Linked DNA regions of Homo sapiens: all the other regions are linked to region 3. The links are contacts of gene promoters, found by promoter capture Hi-C in blood cells and fetal thymus (Javierre and others, 2016). All regions are on one chromosome and are shown on one strand. Each heading gives the region's core, a stretch centred on a gene start or on the middle of the fragment in contact. The rest is flanking DNA. Distances are from core to core; before and after follow the strand shown. Region 1 overlaps FRMD4B (FERM domain containing 4B). Region 2 has its middle 55 kb from the start of FRMD4B. Region 3 holds the start of EOGT (EGF domain specific O-linked N-acetylglucosamine transferase).

Evidence for each region. Contacts are between HindIII fragments. The CHiCAGO score rates a contact against its expected background, and 5 or more counts as called.
Region 1: a fragment that was not itself captured here is called in contact with the fragment with the promoter of EOGT in region 3 in 1 of 17 cell types (total CD4 T cells); the score reaches 6.6 in total CD4 T cells.
Region 2: a contact is called between a fragment that was not itself captured here and the fragment with the promoter of EOGT in region 3, in 1 of 17 cell types (activated CD4 T cells). The highest score is 5.3, in activated CD4 T cells.

The regions. Positions count from the first base shown.
Region 1 is chr3:69,306,312-69,310,853 of GRCh38, reverse strand. The region is part of intron 3 of FRMD4B (FERM domain containing 4B); the gene reads left to right. Among named protein-coding and RNA genes, the nearest start is that of FRMD4B, 78 kb to the left of the region's middle. The HindIII fragment of the contact is 5,597 bases long and covers 1-4,422 here.
Region 2 is chr3:69,439,146-69,443,742 of GRCh38, reverse strand. It overlaps a transcript of FRMD4B not described here. Among named protein-coding and RNA genes, the nearest start is that of FRMD4B, 55 kb to the right of the region's middle. The HindIII fragment of the contact is 2,520 bases long and covers 1-2,510 here.
Region 3 is chr3:69,011,352-69,016,276 of GRCh38, reverse strand. It overlaps EOGT (EGF domain specific O-linked N-acetylglucosamine transferase), which reads left to right and starts at 2,593. Exons shown (of 18, transcript NM_001278689.2): 1 at 2,593-2,703; 2 at 3,478-3,762; 3 at 4,286-4,341. EOGT-DT (EOGT divergent transcript) reads right to left here and starts at 3,157. Exons shown (of 1, transcript NR_185971.1): 1 at 1-3,157. RefSeq lists silencers at 2,366-2,665, 2,726-3,275. The HindIII fragment of the contact is 3,596 bases long and covers 720-4,315 here.

The DNA.
Region 1 (4,542 bases), core at 375-2,874, 300 kb before region 3:
AAAAACATGTATATAGTTTAATATGGAATGAACTTTTAAACTACCACTTAGGTCCATTTTATGTTGCCTTCTCAACTATCTTTTTCTTTTTTTTTTCACTTTTGCCTTTTATGCTAAGTTGTTGAATGTTGTATATATTTGTCAACAATATATATGCTCCCCAAAACAAGGCAGGTAAATAAAAATAAATTCATGAGAATTTAACACTCTAAGCAAATGTGTTTGGATTTACTAGCTCTTTTCTCTCTCTCTCTCTCTCTCTCTCTCTCTCTGTGTGTGTGTGTGTGTGTGTGTGTGTGTTTGTCTGTGTGTATCTGTCTGTCTTTTTTATGGCAGCCCAATTTGCCTACATTTTATGCAGCCCGATACATTATCAGAGGAATCCTTCCACTTTCTGCAGATAATTTCCAAAGAGCTCCTTAAATGTTAAAATGCAAGAAGATGTGTTCCAGACATAAAATATGTTGGCCAACCATCCAGCATTCTTTTCATAATGCTGCCAATTTAAATATTTTTCAGTTCTTTAGTTTAATCAGGTGGAAAATCATCTCAAGAAGGAGTTAATTTGCTTTTAACACCTTGTGGCTTCTGATTATTCCCAGCCTGGGTGGGCTGTGAGCCTAGGACCTCCAGAATATGCCAGCAGGCTCAGGACTTGCACTGGGCAAAAACCAAGCAGCTGAATTATCAGGAGGAATAGAAAAACCTGAAAACTTGATTCTGGACTGAGGATGTTTCCCAAAGAGGGCTCAACAAGGCAGAAGAAAGTACACTAGACATCTCTCACCTCACTCTGAATCACTCAACAGCTACCATTTGAGAGGCTCTGTATGACCTGTCCTCTACTGGATGAAATGGGAAATGCCGACATGCATAGCCAGCACCAGCTCCTGCGAATCAGTGATTGAACACGCACACACATAGGCTGAATCCAAATGTGGATGAAATCATAGCAAACAGTATAAGACATAAAGCCATAAATATACAATGGCTAGGTTATATGGTATAAACTGTAACTGCTATAAGCACTATAATTTAGGCAGAGGTCACATAGAATAGGGGTTAACAACATGAATATTGGAGTAATTTATTCATTGAAAAAATATTGGCCGGGTGTGATAGTTCACACTTGTAATCCCCGCACTTTGGAGGGCCGAGATGGGCAGATCCCTTGAGTACAGGAGTTTCAGAGCCACCTAGGTAACATAGGGAGACCCCATATCTACAAAAAAAAAAAAAAAAAAAATCAGCCAGGTATGGTGACACATCTGTAGTCCCAGCTACTCGGGAGGCTGAGGTGGGAGGACAACTTGAGCCCAGGAGGTTGAGGCTGCCGTGAGCTATGATGATGGCACTACTGCCATCCAGCCTGGGCGACAGAGTGAGACCTTGTCTCAAGTATATATATATATTTACATTAAGAGTGGCTCACACCTGTGATCCTAACACTTTTGGAGACCAAGGGAGGGAGTATTGCATGAGGCCAGGAGTTCAAGACCAGCCTAGGCAACATAGTGAGACCCCATCTCTACGAAAAAAAAAAAAAAAATTAAAAATCAGCCAGGTGTGGTGATGTGCAACTCCAGTCCTAGCCACTCAGGAGGCTGAGGCTGAGGTGGGAGGATTGCATGAGCCTAGGAGTTCAAGGCTACAGTGAGTTTATGATCATGCCACTGCACACCAGCCTAGGCAATAGAGCAAGAACCCATCTCTAAAAATAGAAAATAAAATATTTTTTGAATGCCCACTCAATGCCAGGTGTTGTTCTATATCACGAGGATTCAGCTAGGAGTAACACAGACAAGGCCCCTGCTTTTATGGAGCTCATATTGCAATGCTATAGTCTAGCATAACAAGTAAACAAACAGATAAATCAAAGGAATATCAGCAATTATAAGTGCATTGAAGAACATAAAAGGCCATGACCAAGAAAACTTGGGTTCAGTTTTAGACAGGGTGGGCTAGGACAGGATCTAGGAGGTGACATGTAATGAAAAGCAAGAGCCAGTTCTGCAAAAATTTGGGGAGACATTACAAACAAAAACCAGTGCAAAAGTCCTGAGGTGGGGCTAAGCATGACTTTTGTGATTTGTTTTTTGCGAGAAAAAAAACAAGGCCGGGCACAGTGGCTCACACCTCTAATCCCAGCACTTTGGGAGGCTGAGGCAGTCAGATCACTTGAGCCTAGGAATTCCAGACCAGCCTGGGCAACATGGTGAAACCCCATCTCTACTAAAAATGCAAAAACATTAAGGGGGCATGATGGTGCACACCTGTAGTCCCAGCTCCTCGGGAGGCTTAGGTGGGAGGATTGCATGAGCCCAGAAAGTGGAGGTTGCAGTGAGCCATGATCTCACCACTGCACTCCAGCCCAAGTGACAGAGTGAGATCCTGTCCCAAACAAAAAAAAAAAAAGCCAGTGTGATGAGAGTACAGAGATTAAGAGGGAAAGTGGTACAGGAGGAGGGTTGAGAGGGAGGTAGGAGCAGGTATCAGAGAATCTTGATAGCTAGCTGTGTGACCTTAGAACAGTTACTTAACATCTCTGACACTCAAGTTTTCTCATCTGTACGCTGGACATAATAACAGTGCCTTATATAGTATGTACTACATAAGGCACCTGTAATAGGGTACTAGTATTCAATACTATTAAATCAGGTAAGGTAGGCAGAGCATATAGCACCGGCCCACAATAAAAGGGAGCTGTCATCCCAATGTACTGCAGTAAGGGAGTGTTAAGAAGGAAACTGAAGGAGGACTGGAGCAGGCGTCACACAGACGAGTAACTAAAATTGGATCTTGCAGGTAAGGTAGACTTTAAATAGATGGGAGGGGAGATGAGAGGTGACATCCTAGGCAAGAGTTATTTTGTGGGCAAATGCATGAACATGGCAACGAACAAGGTACATTTGCCCAAGGGTGAAGACGTTGGCCTGATCGTGGGGACAAGATCATAGGTGAGCCTTGTTAGTCACACAGATGGAGGAGGCACACCCAGTCCATGGAAGGATGTTATAGGGAGGAGGAATGCGGCTTTGACTTGCAGTGTCAGAGGTCCCTCAGACTGCAAGGTTTGTGGCAGACTGGAAAAGAGGGTCCTGGCCACATGGGAGGCTTCAGGAAAAGCTCCAAGCTCAGTTGAATATAAACCAGACAGTGCGTAAGTAAGGGGTTCAGACTGTAAGACCTTCTCTTCGGAAAGAAAAGAAATAGTAGGCCGGGTGTGGTGGCTCACGCCTGTAATCTCAACACTTTGGAGGCTGAGGAGGGTGGATCACCTGAGGTCAGGAGTTTGTGACCAGCCTGGGCAACACGGCAAAACCCCGTCTTACTAAAAATACAAAAATTAGCTGGGCGTGGTGGTGGGCGCCTGTAATCCCAGCTACTCAGGCACCTGAGGCATGAGGATCACTTAAACCCAGGAGGTGGAGGTTGCAGTGAACCGAGATTGTGCCACTCCAGCCTGGGTGACAAAGCGAGACACTGTCCAAAAAGGAAAAGAAAAGGAATAATGGGAATGACTTCCTTCAGTTATTTGGGCCACCCTTCTTGTTGTCTGCCCTGAGATTTCTTTCTCAAAACTACGCTGGGAGAAGAATGGTTCACACAGCCTTTTTCCCAGTTACCTCCTTTGGTTCAACCAAAGGAGGTAACTATAGTCATGGTCTTTCCAAGAACCCCGGCTCCACAATGTCCTCTGTGCACTCCCCGGCAAGTGACGGCAGAGTCTCTTTTTGAATTATGACCAGTTTGGGGAGGTGTCTCCTGGCTCTAGTCGTGTTTATTTTCAGAAGAAGTATGAGCGGGGCTGTTGAGGGGGTGGAAATTGGCCATTTCTACCTTTCTGGGGAGCGGGCCTGGAATATTGCTTATGTCTAAGGGTGTCTCCTTGGAATGTCTTGGTCACAAGCCTAGTTCTTTTTCTTTGGTAAATATTTTTGGAAAGTATTTTCTTTCAGCACTTTCCTCCTGCCTCCCTTCGCCCCCGTAAAACCACTGAGTGAGGGCCCTCCCAGGATGCCGTCTGAGTTTATTTTCCAGCCTAGATGCCACATGCGTCTTTTGTCTTTGGTAAAGCTGAAAGGAACATTTTGTCAATGAAAGTAGCTACTGTCTACAACTCATCCACAGGCCAAGAGGAGAAACGGAAAAATAGATGGCAATTACGCAATAAAAGCAGTGATGATGACCAACAACCACAGATTCAAGGTCACGTTACTGGGAGAGGGATAGCATTTCTGAGATTACGCTTGTTAGGGCCTTGCGCAGCTCTGTGTGCAAAGTTAGTCTTTCACCCCTAGAGGGCAGTCACGGCCCTCCTGAGGCACCAGTCCTTCAGGTCACCGTAGTGGTTCCATCTCTTCACCCATTTCACTTTTTGTTTTGCCTTCTCATGTTTTGAAAGGCTTTGCTAAATAAGCTTTGTTTACCAAGAAATAACAGATAGACTTTACAACACAACTGTGACTTTTGATCACTGTCCCTTCCAATGGGACTGTGACAATGGGCCTTCTGTTGATGCAATTCTAGCCAAAAATAAAA
Region 2 (4,597 bases), core at 1-2,500, 430 kb before region 3:
ACCAAATTCCTTTGAAAGTTAGCTTGGCCTACACCCAGGAATGAGTGAGGACAGCAAGTGTGTGTTGCTGGAAGCAAGATGGAGTTGGCTGTGTCAGATTTCTCTTACTGTCATAATTTTGCAAAGGTGGTTTTGGCCTCACAGGTTAAGGGCTCAGTCCCATAAGACTACCCCATTTCAGATGCCAATTGCAAGTCCTGGGCCCTCTGCACTTTTGACCAACTTAACTACAAATTAGGGGTTCCTATGACCTCCTGCTCAGGTTTGACAATTAGCTATAATAGCTCATAGAACTCAGAGAAACACTTCACTTACCAGTTCATTAGAAAAGATATTATAAAGGATACAGACAAACAGCCAGATGGAGATGTATATATAAAGTCCAGAGGGGTCCAAAAAGCAGGAGTTTCTGTGCCAGTGGAGTTTGGGATGTGCCGCTCTCCCAAAAAGTGAATGCATTCACCAGGAGGCTCTCCAAACCCCATTGTTCAGGGTTTTTATGGAGGTTCCATTAGTTAGGCATGATTGAGTAAATTGTGGCCACTGGTGACTGAACTCAACCTCCAGCCCCTCTCCCCTCCCTGGGGGTCAGGGGGTGGGACTGAAATTTCCAACCCTGTAATCACATGGTTGGTTCCTCTGGCAACCAGCCCCCACCCTGAAGCTGTGTGGGGCTGGAATCCCCCAGCCATCTCATTAACATAAACTCAGATGTGGTTGAAAGGGGCTTATTATGAGTAACAAAAGATGCTTCTCTCACCCCAATCACTCCGAAGTTACAAGAATTTCAGAAGCTCTTTGCCAGGAACTGGGGAAGAACAAACAGATTTCTTATTCTATCATAACATCACACTGGCCCACCTTCTCATTGTGCATATGAAGAAACTGGCCCAAAGCCACTCAGAGTCTAGAACCCATTTCCTCACTGCCTGTTTGAGCTGTTGCCCTGATAATGTTTATGTGGCTTCATAAGCAGGTCTGGTTGTCAGGGCTTCAGTGGAGGCACATGGATCCGCAATGCCCTCTTCTTGGGCAAAGAGGACATGACATAGGACGTCAGTGGGTGCACGTATGGCTCCATCTGCCCCCTAGTATTTGGGAGGCTGCATCATCTTAAATAAGGATGGCATTAAATTGCCTTAACCTAGTATTTAATACTCATAAATACTCACTTATGAGTATTTCTCATAAGTGGTTTTTGGACTACCTATGTTAGAATGATCTAGAGTGCTTGTTGAAAATGAAGGCCCCACCCCTGGTTTGTGGAATCAGAACCTCTAGAAGTGGGATTGACAATCTGCCTTCTTAACAAACTCAGATTCACTTAAAAATAACAATTTTTCAATAGAATAAAACTTATTGGCAGGGCATAGTGGCTCATGCCTGTAATCCCAGCACTTTGGGAGGCTGAAGCAGGAGGTTCACTTGAGGCCAGGAGTTTGAGACCAGCCTGGACAATATAGTGAGATCCCATCTCTAAAAAAAATTTAAAAATTAACTGAGCATGATGGTGTGCACTTGTAATTCCAGCTACTCAGGGGGCTGAGTTAGGAGGACTGCTTGAGTACAGGAGTTCAAGGCTGCAAGCTATGATTGCATCACAGCCTGAGTGACAGAGTGAGACCCCATCTCAAAAAAAAAAAAAAGAAACTTCTTTGGTGAATCATTCAGATTGTGTAATCTGAGATAGATTAGATAGCTGGAGATTTGTAAATGGATAAATGGTTTCTGGATTTATGCAAATAAACTTAATAGCTATCTCTTAGGAGTAGAAATGGGCCGAATAGACAGTGGCACTTTCACTGTTCTAAGCCACTTGGAAACCTGGAATGCAGAACATAAATGTGTTTGGAATCCGTTTTGTAAGTATTTCTGCAGTTAAACTATTTGTTCAAGAGACTAGAAATGTCTTACATCATTATTTACTGCTAATATATGGGAGAAAGGAAATACCCCTTTGTTGATATAAGAGGACACAGGAGGAGCAACCAGGGGCATTAGGGGAGATCCACGTGAGTTCATTTTTCCACTCAGTTATCCATTCAGCTCATATTCACTGAACAGCTGCCATGTGCCAGGAATTGCTGTAGGTTCTGGGGACACAGAAAAGAACAAGGCAGCAAGGTCCTCAATCATGTGGAGCTTATAGTATATCGTGGGGAATAATACACCAATAAAGAGTTCAAAGAAGATAAATTCAAATTGTGGCAAGTGCTGTGAAGAAATAAAGAAGCTATGTCATTACGGATGGTTGGAGGGCTACTCTCTGGTGGGCAGGGATAGTTTCTCTGAGAGAAGACATCTGAACCGAGGCCCAAACAGCAGGAAGAAACTAGCCATATGCATATCTGGGGAACAAGATTCCAGAAAAAACACAGCCTCAAGGACAAGGGTCCCAAAATAAAATTAGCTTGGTATGTTTGAGTACATAAAGAAAACCACTCCACTCTCACTGCCTCACTTGACTAACCTTAGAAAAAAAAGTAAAGAAAACCACTGTGGCTAAAGCTTAATGACTAACAGAACATACAATAAAAGTCCAGGAGGAAGATAGGAAACCATGTCCTATAATCATGCTCCAGTATGGAGTTCAAATTTCATTCTTAGTGTAACAGAAAGCCTCAGGGGAGCTACATTCAGGGAGGGATGATTTGCTATCTTCAGATTTGGGTTTCAAAAAAATCACTCCAGAGCTCAAAACCACTCAGAAACTCAGAGTACGTTTTAAGAAAATATACATCTGCTTCAGGAAAAAAAGGTTATTGTAAATTATTTTTAAAAGAGCTAAAGAAATGACAAGATATACCATATACGTGGAAAGGAAGATCAATATCATGAAATGTTGAGTATTTACAAATTCATTGTAGTTCTAAGCAAAATCCCCAGCATTCTGAAATATGAATGCAAATGTAAGTATTCAAGAATTTTTTTTTTTGACAGAGTCTCTTGCTCTGTTGCCAAGGCTGGAGTGCAATGGCATGATCTTGCCTCAGTGCAACCTCTGCCTCCCAGGTTCAAGCGATTCTTGTGCCTTAGCCCCTCAAGTAGCTGGGATTACAGGGGTGCATCACCACACCTGGCTAATTTTTGTATTTTTTTTAGTAGAGATGGGTTTTCCCCACGTTGGCCAGGCTGATCTCAAGCTCCTGGCCTCAAGTGATCCACCTGCCTTGGCTTCCCAAAGTGCTGGGATTACAGGCATGAGCCACCATGCCCAGCCACATTCAAGAATTTAATAAGGGAGTTTTGTGAAAGAATAAAAGATTAGGAGTTCCTCTATCAAAATTTATTATAAAGCCATAGACAGTATTACTGGTGAAGGGTAATTGAAAAATAGATCAATAGGACAGAAAAGAGAGCCCAATGATGAACTAAACAAATATGGTTCTTTCTATATGATATAGGATGCTTTAGAAGTTACAGAGGAAAACACAGTATCAAAAGTAAATGGTATTGTTACAACTGATAGCCTGTAAGAAGAAAAAATCAGATTCTTACATAACAGTTTGTACAAGAATAAATTGTGAGATGGATTAAAAACTTAAATATAAGAAATAAAAATGTAAAACCTTTAGATGGGGAGAAAGGAATCTTAGAATAAAGTAGATTTTATAAACTAGAGTCTCAAAAGTCACACTCAAGTTTGGATGAATTTCACTATATCAAAATGTATAACTTCTGCATAACATGGCACCATAAAATAAAAAGACAAACAACAAACTGGTAGAAGGCATTTGCAACCCCAAATAACTACCAAAAGCAAGTTTCCAGAATCTCTAATGAACTCCTACAAATCAAAAAGGGAAATTTAAACTACCCAATAGAAAAATAGACAGCTTATTAACAGGCACTTCCACAAGGGGGAGACATGAATGAGCAGTAAAAATTGAAAAGGTTTTCCACAGTGCTAATAAAAGCAGGAAATGCAAGTTTAAAAATCATAATGAAACTGCATTTTATGCCCGTCACAATAGCAGAAATTCAAAAGGCTGACAATGAGACTTGGCAAAGAATTGAGGTAAACAGGCACTCTGAGCTGTGGCAGGTGGCACTTTGGAGAGCAAGTTGTCATTCCCTAGTTAGACTTCTAAACACACAGATTCTACCACACAAAGATTCTACTTCGGGACAGAAATCAGCAGCATTTCTCAAAGGAGGGACTCTTGGTATTTTGTGGGGGACAAAATATTTAGGACTCTCATGCACTGTACAAAATTTAGCATCCCCTGCCCCATTCCATCCCCATCTCACGAAAGATTCTCCCACATTTCCAAATAATACCTTGGAGGATTGGACCACCCCAGGTGAGATTTACCAGGAGAAATTCCTGCATATACCCACACAGTACTGCCATGTACTCTCATGTAGGTTGTGCCCCAAACACCTCTCACAACTAAACAGGGAGGCCTCTGTACAGAAGGAGAATCATGAGGATGTGTGCTGTCGCATCCTTTGTTATAACAAAAATCGGACACTACCCAAATAGCCATCAGTCCACAAATGGAGAATTAAACTGTAATTCAGTCATACGACAGAGCACTATGCAACAGTTAATAATCTAGATCGCAAAAAACCATGTTGAGCAAAATATAATAGG
Region 3 (4,925 bases), core at 1,344-3,843:
ACACACACACACACACACACCAAAAAACAAAGTCATGTCTTCTTTGTTCCTTATACCCCTCCTCTTCCCTCCTTGCCCATATAGTCATTTTAAATGTTAATCTACTTGTAAAATAATAATTAGTAAATATATATGTGTATACACATGTATACACACATATTCCTCTTAGAAAAATGATATTTACATATTACATATCCTTTTCCCACTCAATATTCTGTAGTGTACAGAGATATTTCTCAATTCCTTTTTATGCATGCATAGTTTTACATTGTATGGATAAACCATAGTTTATTCAACCAGCCTTCTATTGGTAGACACTTGAGTTTTATGTCAGCTCAAAGAAAATTTAAATTCTAACATTGGTATTTTGGAGAGAAATTCTATTTGAGAATGGCTGTTACAGTAAGAGAGACTCAATCTCATGTTCAGGTTTATCATATCTGGTTTCCTGTAAGTCTGAATGACCATTCAATATGTAGGTGTTTAAAATAGCACCACATAGCCAGGCGTGGTGGCTCACAACTGTAAACCCAGCACTTTAGGAGGCCGAGGCTGGAAGATCACTTGAGGCCCGGAGTTGGAAACAAGTGCTGGGAACATAGCAAGAACCTGTTTCTACAAAAAAAATAAAATAAAATAGTACCATGCACATGTCATACTGATTTTAACCTTTTTGTATGTGACAAAAATAGGATGGTAGCAAGTAGGCTGAGGAAGCTTTTTTTTTTTTTTTTTATGAGACAGGGTCTCACTGTGGCCCAGGCTAGAGTGCAGTGTCTCAATCATGGCTCACTGCAGCCTCAACCTCACTGGGCTCAAGCGATCATCCTGAGTAGCTGGGACTACTGGCATGAGCCACAGTGCCTGGCTTGAGGAAGCATTTTAAAAAATTACTGTCATTAGTGTGGGATGGTGAAGTATGCAAAGTATAAAATAATAGAGCAGTAATTCTGTTATAGGAAAGGGGTCCCAATCCAGACCCCAAGAGAGGGTTCTTGGATCTCGAGCAAGAAAGAATTCAGGGCAAAGTGTAAGCAAGTTTGTTAAGAAAGTAAAGGAAAAAAAAAAAGAAAGTAAAGGAAGAAAAGAATGGCTACTCCATAGACAAAGCAGCCCTGAGTGCTGCTGGTTGCCCATTTTTATGGTTATTTCTTGATGATATGCTAAACAGGTGGATTATTCATGCCTCCCCTTTTAAGACCATATAGGGTAACTTCCTGACATTGCCATGGCATTCGTAAACTGTCATGGCGCTGATAGGAGTATAGTAGTAAGGACTACCAGAGGTCTCTTTCATGGCCATCTTGGTTTTGGTGGGATTTAGCCGGCTTATTTACTGCAACCTGTTTTATCAACAAGGTCTTTATGACCTGTATCTTGTGCCGACTTCCTATCTCATTCTGCGACTTAGAATGCTTTAACGGCCTGGGAATGCAGCCCAGTAGGTTTCAGCCTCATTTTACTCAGCTCCTATTTAAGATGGAGTTGCTCCGGTTCACATGCCTCTTGACAGTTCCCTTAGAGGCAAAATCTTTTCAATAAAAAGAATAAATTAATACTGTAAAGTGCTTTAAAACAATGTTTGGCACATGTTAAACACCACATGTTCTTGCTGTTATTATTTGAAAAAAATTCCAGGTAAGATTCCTAATTTAGCAGGTCACTAATGGAACTTGTAACAATTCTTAAACAACATTACTTTTAAAAATTACGTAAAAAGCATGTAAGCCTTTGGAAACAAACTTGTTTCCTTATGATCATATTATTTAACTTCTGGTGACTATATTCATTTGAGCATGTTTATTTTGAAGTCATCACCTTCATATAATCAGTTCAACTTTAGTCACTATTTAATGATCAACTCTACTGTGCTGTAGATGGAATACTAGGCCTGGGGGAGCTTAGAGGAAAAGACAGTGGGGGATGGGAGTTCAAATAATTATAAGCAGTAATAAAGTAAATTAACAAAACCATAAAAATTAAACTCCACAGAGTAGCATTTGAACTTGATGAGTTTACGGATAGGTAAAACTATACTGCTTTTAAAATGTGTGTGGACTCCAAAGTATCCTCACCATCACAAAGTGTATTCGGTGAACGATGTTCAGTCCCCAAATTTGGAAGTTAGGGCGGCAACTTCTGCTTGAAATAAGACAAAAGTAAAAATCCACCTCAGTGCAACGCAGAAGACACGAAGAGTCAGGTTTTCTACCCACCCCGTCCTAACATCCTCTGAGCGCTTTAACGCTCTCGCTCAAGGAGGCGCGGGCTGCTGCGATGGAGATGGGCGTCCGGCGCCGGCACGTGCCGTCGGTCTTTCCGGCCCTGGTGAGGGAGCTGGCGGACTCGCGCGAACGTTCGCGGGAGAACGCCAGGAAGGGCAGATGGTTCCTCGACTCTGAGCCCCTCCCTGCTGCGCTCGCCGGGTCGAGGCCGCTCGCCGGGCTGAAGCCGCTCCGAGCGTCGGGCCCCGCGCCCTGGCCCTCCTGGGTGTAGTCCCGGTCCTGCCTCTGCGGGGCCCGAGCCCGCCCACGGCGCCGGCTGGCCAAGGTGTCCCAGCTGCTCCTTGGCGCCCCCTGGCCCAGCTCCCGCGCCCGAGGTTTCCGGTGAGCGGCAGTAGCCGGTTATGACGACTCCCTCCTCTGGAACAGCCGCCGTCTCCTCCGCCTCCTCCTCGGTAGTTCACGGCTGCCCCGGCTCCAGGTGGGACTCCCCCGCAATCTGCGGAGCCTTCCCCCGCTCTCCTTCCCGCCGCCGCAGCGCTCTGCGCTGTTCTTGCCCGGGTGGTAGCCGCTCCCGGCGCGGCTTCCCGGAGGGCTATAGCCTACGCACGCACTCCGCCCGCGCCTTCCCATTCCCTGCGGGCCGGGAGGCGGGCGTCGGAAGCCGATCCTGGCCCTCCCCGGCCCCGGGCGCCCGGCCCCTTCCCAGCGCCCGGAGCGCAGGCGGGCCCCGGGCCCTAGCCGCGTTGACCAGGTTTCCAGCCGGGGCGGAGCCGCTCCCCGGGGCCCCTCCCAGGCGCGCTGGGGACCCGGGGCGCCGCGGTGCACGGTGGCGGGCGGCCCCGGGAGATCACCGACCCCGAAGCAATCCCTGGCGGCGCCCGGGGTCCGGAACCCCAGCGCGGCGTCTCAGCCGCGGCGGGGTGCTCGCCACTGACCCCTCAGCCCTTGGCCGGGACTGACGTTCAAGCGGACAGCTGGGCTCTGCCGGGACTGACGTTCAAGGGGCAGCCGAGCACTTCCTGAGCCCTGCCTGGCACCCGCCGAGAGACTTTTTGGCACAAGTAGGGGCCAGCCGTTGAGGTGTCATTCGGGGTCTCACGTGTTGAACTTTCCATTTGCCCACTGCCGTCTTTAAACTTTTCCAAGCTCTCTCTCTCTGCGACATTGCCCCATTTCGCCCGCTGTGTCAACCCCAGGTTTTGCCTCCTATCCATCATCTTTCAGATGTTTCCCTTTTTTCCTTCCTCATTAGGCCTGTGGAAATCGAATCAAGGGTTTCTGGAGTGGAGTGATTCCAGCTGCTTTGAGCTGAAGGAAAAGTAGCCTGGCCAGTAAAGCGTCCGTGTGCTGGAGGAGTGCAGCCACCCATCCCGGCGGGCCTTGCAGGACGACCGACACCAGGAAGGCTTTGTGCCAGGCCCAGCAGCCACCCCCAGCCGCCTTATGCAAGTGGGTACATGCCCTCGCCAGACGCCAGCTTTCTGATCTGCGTCTTTAGATTTTTTCCATCGCCTAAGCGTTACTTCTCCACTGATCGGTGAGTTTAGTGATGGCCAGAGCTCACTGGAGGACAATGGACTTGGATAACCAAAGGTCAGGGCTTGGTCATAACAATGACTTTATTACCGGGAAGGACGAGTCAAAAAATAGGAAGGCCTGGGAACCCTCAGGCTCGCCACTCTAGGTGGGTAGCCCTGTGATTCAGCCAGTGGGATTACTGCTGTGAGAATGGGAAAGTTGTTTGCTTCTGGGAATGTTTGATCCACTAAGTATCCTGTTGGCCAGTTCCAGTGGATGCCTGTAGAAAGTGGGCCACCTCCTCCCGTTCCCCATTGGAATCTGGTCCGAGTTGCTGTGTTGGGGGTGGTGCCTGTGAACTCGAGTATAGCAGTGTGGTATTCATTAAGGAAAAGAAAGCGCACCACCGGCCAGGCCTTCTGGCTGAGAGTTATCACGTTACATTATTTTCTTTCTTAATATTTCCTTTAATTCACAACATCATCTGAATGATCAGGTTTACTTTAGCATCCTTTTAAGGTAATATGTTTCATTTCTGACAGGTTTTAGAGACCTGAAACATCACAGAAGCTTCTGAGTGGTTCTGAAGATTCAAGAGGTATATATTTTTATTACAAGTAGAGTCATTGTTACTATTAATATGTGTTTTTAAATTTTTATAAAACTGCTGTCAACTCATTCTTGGATAAAAGCTCCAAGTGAAAATGTTATTGTAATTCAGATCAGATTTACAGCAGATAACACCATACTCTTGAGGGCCGCCAAAGTGAAAAACCACAATACTTAACTACTCCAAGGGGGGAAAATGGGGGAAAAAGGATTCCTTTTTGGTGTCCCCACTGTTCACTTAGAATTCCATGGCCTTGGAACTTGAGGTTTGATGGAACATAGCAGTCAATTTCCTTTTCTTCTTTCTTTCTTTGTTTTTTTTTTTTTTTGAGACAGAGTCTCCCTCGCATTACCCAGGCTGGAGTGCAGTGGCGAGATCACGACTCACTGCATCCTTGACTTCCCAGGCTAAAGTGATCCTCCCACTTCAGCTGGGACTACAGCTGATTTTTTGTATTCTTAGCAGAGACCGGGTTTCATCACGTTGCCCAAGCTGGTCTCGAACTCAGGGACTCAAGCAATCTGCCAGTCTTGGCCTCCCAAAGTGCTACTATTACAGGCCTGCAGTCTGTT